2 separate regions of the Homo sapiens genome follow, and region 2 is linked to region 1. Evidence: promoter capture Hi-C in 16 types of primary human blood cells and fetal thymus (Javierre and others, 2016). All regions are on one chromosome and are shown on one strand. Each heading gives the region's core, a stretch centred on a gene start or on the middle of the fragment in contact. The rest is flanking DNA. Distances are from core to core; before and after follow the strand shown. Region 1 holds the start of NOA1 (nitric oxide associated 1). Region 2 overlaps ANKRD17 (ankyrin repeat domain 17).

The links. Contacts are between HindIII fragments. The CHiCAGO score rates a contact against its expected background, and 5 or more counts as called.
Region 2: a fragment that was not itself captured here is called in contact with the fragment with the promoter of NOA1 in region 1 in 1 of 17 cell types (total B cells); the score reaches 5.3 in total B cells.

The regions. Positions count from the first base shown.
Region 1 is chr4:56,976,222-56,979,178 of GRCh38, reverse strand. It overlaps NOA1 (nitric oxide associated 1), which reads left to right and starts at 1,573. Exons shown (of 7, transcript NM_032313.4): 1 at 1,573-2,737. The coding sequence starts at 1,594. POLR2B (RNA polymerase II subunit B) reads right to left here and starts at 283. Exons shown (of 25, transcript NM_000938.3): 1 at 175-283. The coding sequence starts at 193. RefSeq lists enhancers at 1-9, 1,831-1,900, 2,281-2,340 and a silencer at 2,001-2,080. The HindIII fragment of the contact is 14,072 bases long and covers 390-2,957 here.
Region 2 is chr4:73,219,664-73,222,620 of GRCh38, reverse strand. The region is part of intron 1 of ANKRD17 (ankyrin repeat domain 17); the gene reads left to right. Among named protein-coding and RNA genes, the nearest start is that of ANKRD17, 38 kb to the left of the region's middle. The HindIII fragment of the contact is 3,013 bases long and covers 44-2,957 here.

The DNA.
Region 1 (2,957 bases), core at 324-2,823:
GCACCCTCCGCCTCTCCCTACCCCAGTTTCGTTCCCGGCCTGGTAAGTGTGGGAACAAGGCTGGGGACTGTGCAGCCGGCGCATGGGAAGGCCCCAAATCCTCAATCCAATCAGTTCCCAACGCTTTCCTGCTTAAATGGACCGCCACGGCGTGTGTTTTGAGCGTTCACCTACCCTCATCCGCGTCGTACATATTGCCAAACGGTTCTCGAGCTCCTAACTCTTGAAATCAAAAGACAAAAACCGCCCAGAAGCCAGCAGCGCCAGGAGCTAAAGACGAAGTAACTTCCGTCTCCGACGTTCCCAGAATACCACGCGTCTCACACCAAAGGCCGCCCACAGGGACGCCAAAGTTAGGATCTGCGCCTGCGCAAATTGTAGGTCAAGCTTGGGCCGGGGTTAGGGTTGCACACGCGTAAATTGTGGGCCGCCGCTGCCGGGCTGATTGAGAGGACAGCTCCCGCAATCTGCGGTCGTATCCGTTCCGTCAATGTTTTATTTCTGCTTGTTTTTCAATGTTGTTGCACAAATAACGACACCTGAAAACAAAACCAGGTATACTTATTATTAAAAAGTGTTCGTCCTGTGAATCCGCAACATTGGGATGCTCAATTTATTTGCCTTTATAAGGACCAAAACACGAAGCTATTTTTTATTTTTATTTATTTATTATTTTTTGAAATGGAGTCTCGCTCTGTCGCCCAGGCTGGAGTGCAGTGGAGCGATCTCGGCTCACTGCAACCTCCGTCTCCCGGGTTCAAGCGATTCTCCTGCCTCGGCCTCCCAAATAGCTGGGATTACAGGCAAGGGTCACCACGCCCGGGTAATTTTTGTATTTTTAGTAGAGACGGGGTTTCACCACGTTGGCCAGGCTGGTCTCGAACTGCTGACCTCAGGTGATCCACCCGCCTCGGCCTCCCAAAGTGCTGGGATTACAGGCGTGAGCCACGCGCCCGGCCGGAAGCTCCTTTCTGTTTTTGTTTTGTTTTGTTTTTTTGAGACAGGCTCGCTCTGTCGCCCAGGCTGGAGTGCAGTGGCGCGATCTCGGCTCACTGCAACCTCCGCCTCCCGCGTTCAAGCCATTCTCCTGCCTCAGCCTCCCGAGTAGCTGGGACTACAGGCGCCCGCCACCACGCCTGGCTAATTTTTTGTATTTTTAGCAGAGATGGGGGTTTCACCGTGTAAGCCAGGATGGTCTCGATCTCCTGACCTCATGATCCGCCCGCCTCGGCCTCCCAAATTGCTGGGATTACAGGCGTGAGCCACCGCGCCCGACCCCGGAAGCTCCTTTTTAAGTGTGATTTATTAAGGGCGGCTTGTGCTAGCAGTGAGGCGTTAAGCCTGAAAGTGAAAAAACCCAAAACACTCACTGCTCTTTTCTGCCCACCTAGCTCAATCCTCCAGTGCCTTTGCCATAGCTTTAAGTAGGTTCTCAGTCTCAGAGCTTAAATCGCGAGAACTGACGGGATTAGACGCAAAACCAACCAGGACAGCTCCCAAGTACCCACGCGCTTTCGTCTCGGGTCAAATGCGCGCCTCGGACCCTAGTGCGCGTGCGCGCTGGTGGCTCCGCCCCTTTGGAGCTACTTCCTCATGCTGCCCGCTCGCCTACCGTTCAGGCTGCTGAGCCTTTTCCTTCGTGGATCCGCTCCCACGGCAGCGCGCCATGGCCTCCGGGAGCCGCTCCTGGAGAGGAGGTGCGCTGCCGCCTCCTCCTTCCAGCACTCATCGAGTCTGGGACGCGAGCTTCCTTATGACCCCGTGGACACGGAGGGCTTTGGAGAAGGTGGTGACATGCAGGAGCGTTTTCTGTTCCCGGAGTACATCCTGGATCCGGAGCCGCAACCCACCCGCGAAAAGCAGCTGCAGGAGCTCCAGCAACAGCAGGAGGAGGAGGAGCGACAGAGGCAGCAGCGGCGGGAGGAGCGGCGACAGCAAAACCTACGGGCCAGGTCCCGGGAGCACCCGGTCGTGGGGCACCCGGACCCGGCATTGCCGCCCAGCGGCGTGAACTGCTCGGGCTGTGGGGCAGAGCTGCACTGCCAGGACGCCGGAGTGCCCGGCTACCTGCCCCGAGAGAAGTTCCTCCGCACGGCGGAGGCAGACGGCGGGCTGGCACGGACCGTGTGCCAGCGCTGCTGGCTGCTGTCGCACCACCGGCGCGCTCTACGCCTGCAGGTGAGCCGCGAGCAGTACCTGGAGCTGGTGAGCGCCGCGTTGCGGCGGCCCGGCCCCTCCCTGGTGCTCTACATGGTGGACCTGCTGGACCTGCCCGACGCCCTGCTGCCCGACTTGCCCGCGCTGGTGGGCCCCAAGCAGCTGATCGTGCTGGGAAACAAAGTGGACCTCCTGCCCCAGGATGCTCCTGGCTACCGGCAGAGGCTGCGGGAGCGACTGTGGGAGGACTGTGCCCGCGCCGGGCTCCTGCTGGCCCCTGGCCACCAAGGGCCACAGCGCCCCGTCAAGGACGAGCCACAGGACGGGGAGAATCCGAATCCGCCGAACTGGTCCCGCACAGTGGTCAGGGACGTGCGGCTGATCAGCGCCAAGACCGGCTATGGAGTGGAAGAGTTGATCTCTGCCCTTCAGCGCTCCTGGCGCTACCGTGGGGACGTCTACTTAGTGGGCGCCACCAACGCCGGCAAATCCACTCTCTTTAACACGCTCCTGGAGTCCGATTACTGCACTGCCAAGGGCTCCGAGGCCATCGACAGAGCCACCATCTCCCCTTGGCCAGGTGAGTTTTAGGAGGCTCGCCCTCTTCGTTTCCTGGCAAGGTGGACGTCTGGTCCTGGCCGAGGCACCGAGTACATCCTCCCTTAATGTCCACTGCGGGCTGCCTGTACCCTTCCCTTTACAAATTCTCTCCCCACTCTGGTCACACCTCTCTTCTGTGTCAGCTTACTGCTAGGGAAAATTGAGGATGTGTTGTAGTAATTTTCAATGGAAGTGTTTAT
Region 2 (2,957 bases), core at 301-2,800, about 16 Mb before region 1:
ATCATATGTCTTAGAATTCATTTACATATCTAAGCCTAAAGCTTTGCTGCAGTTAACTATTAAAAACGGTTATTTTAGCTTTAAACTAAGCATGTTTATATCAATCTGATTGCTTAATTTAGCTGGTATACTCTGGTCCTAGATTTTTCATGTGACTTTGATTATTATAAAACAAATTATTAAATTAAAAATATTAAAACCCTGAAATTTAGGGCACTGATGCTAGAGAGACATCAATACAAAATTACTATAATTTGAATCATGAACATTTTAAATTATATTTTCTCTTTTCTGGTTGTAAAAATTTTATAAGATCCTATTTGAGTATAAATCAGTCCAAGGAAATACATGTCAAAGTGAAACTATAATTGCTTTTGGCATTGAATGTAGTATACTATTAGAAATTTGTATTTATAGGTATAGGTATTTAAATCTCATATTCTTATCTGTGGGATTGTGTAGGGTTTTTCTTTTTTTTCCTCATTAGATAAAACCTGGGTAATTCAGATAAAGAGGCTTTATGGTGGTGAGTGGTATTCCTAATACTTAGACTGTTGAGATAATTTATTAACTATTTCACATCTTCAGGAAGATTATTTTACTGTGGGGAGAGGGCTTGGGAGAAGAAGCTGCAAAGGGAAGCTAGGCGGGGTTAGCAGGAGAAAAAAGCCTATGCGCATTATAAAGTGCTGCATGATCAATGAGTATTTTCTGGAGTCCCTCAGTGTGTGCTTGGAGCTGACATTGCAGCAAGTCTCATGGTTGTTCTGCAGAATGAAAACTGATTCCATTTATTACCTACCTCCTTGCAGACACCTGCCAATGTGCTCTTTTCCCCTTTCCTAAAAGCTGTTAGGTCTAAGTTGAATTGTGGTTAATTTTTATTCTTTTCTCTTTTATTTTTTACTTTGTTTCTATTAGTGAGTTTCCTTAAAAATGTGTGGTAAAATTATCTACTTAGAAATAGTAGTATAAACTTTCATCAAAGGAGTTTAGTAATTACAAGTGGCCACATGACTTTTTAGTGGTTCAGTTTAAATAAGCCTAATTAGATTACAGAGTTCTAGTGTTACATTTTAATTTGCTTTTAAAATTTTTTGGTTTGGATTTTAAAGAAGTGTGCTTTGGAGATTTTGATAAATCTATTTGACAATTTTTCTTAGCCATTTAAAACTTCAGCATATAACAGATTTTAGAAGTCTTATTTATGTTCTGAGGAAATCCTACTTGAGCACTGTTTTGTGCTTTATGCATAGGTTTTTTTAATGCTACCTGAACAACTGGCTTTTTATTATCTCAATTGTTTAATACCATGTTAAGATTTCATGTTACCTTATTTATTCAATGTTGCTAGTTATTAAAACAACCTCTGCAATTTTAGTTTTCCTAATTCTCAATTTATCTTAATTTAGTTTCTATGTACCTGTTGCATCCTATCATACTAAATAAGTAGCTTTTTCTCTTTATTTAAAATATCATTTGACTTAAATATTTGTCAATCTTGGTAACATTTTCTAAGTAGTAATAAAAGAGCCTTATCCAAAGTTATAAGTACTCATAATGACACAGTGCTAAAAATACAGAGTGCAAAGAATAAATTTGCTAACTTTGCAGATAAATGTACCATTTTCTAAAGCACCTCATATTGCAAGTAAACAGATATTTATTACATAATGAGCTTTCCAGAAAAATATATTCCCTAGCCCTCTACCCCCCACAGGGATAACTCCTTGAATAAATGTCCAGTAATGGATAATGAAGTTCATCTGTATACCACAGTGACAGTTTTATTATTGTACTTAATATTGAGCTACTTGAAGTTCATTACCGTAATTTTCACCTTTGTGATTTTATTTATTGAACATACGGAATTTTATGTAGATTATGCTTATTTGCATTGAATAAATATTAGACTCTTTTTTTCCTGTCTTTGTAACTTGATCTTTTGAATCATAAACTTCTTAAAGGTACTCTTATTGAATATTAGTTAACAAAAGTCAATATCATTAGTGAACATAACACAAATGATTTCTCATAATACTATGGCTTACCTTTTAAACTGTGATTACTGATTATATATGCCCACATATATTTAAGTTGACTATTTAGACCTTTAAAATCTTAAGTAAAATACTCTCTAAAATGTATAATAAAATTAGAAAAGGTGGATTTCAACTTACATCATTGCTTTTCAACAGTCCAAGGTAAGGGATTAAATAGAGTGTCTTGGCTATTTCATTTATTCAAATAATCCAGGCAGTAATTTTCTTCTCCAAACCAAAGGCATCAAAGTATTTCCGTTCCTTCTGCCTACCTTCTGTAAAAGGAACTAATACTCAGGAAAGTAGCCATATACAGATGGCAGAAAAAGGGCTGACAGCTCATATAAATACCTCTTTTCTTGTTCTGTTTATGTTTTCCTGAGACATGATTATAATTTTAGAATTTTGATGACCTTCCTGTAAAATTATGTGTAACAATAGATTGTACTACTTAGAATGATCAATAAGAGGAAAAATGTCTTCCAATTTTATATCCCAAATTTACATGGCCAAGGGCTGTGTATATAAACCTGTGGTTTATATGTTGGCTTTTTTATATGAAAACATGAAACAACTGAGAGATCATTTCAGAAACTTGGTTACTGTATATTTAGTGTTATTATTTATAATTGAGCCAGTTTTAGGAGTCTTAGTAATAAGAAATCTTCACAGATATTTCCATCCTTTAATTTTGATTAAGTTCAGATTGTTCTGGGTATAGTATTTGATATATTTTTGCTTTAAGAAAGTAGGAAATTTTATGAAAATAAAAATGTTTATATTGTTAAGTGTAATAATAACTCTCATACCCGTTCTTATTCTTTTGTCATCTAAAGCCAGGATGTCCAGCTTCATCTGTACTTGATGTTATAGGTTGTGGTATATAAAATAAAAGTGCCAACTCTCTATGGTTCT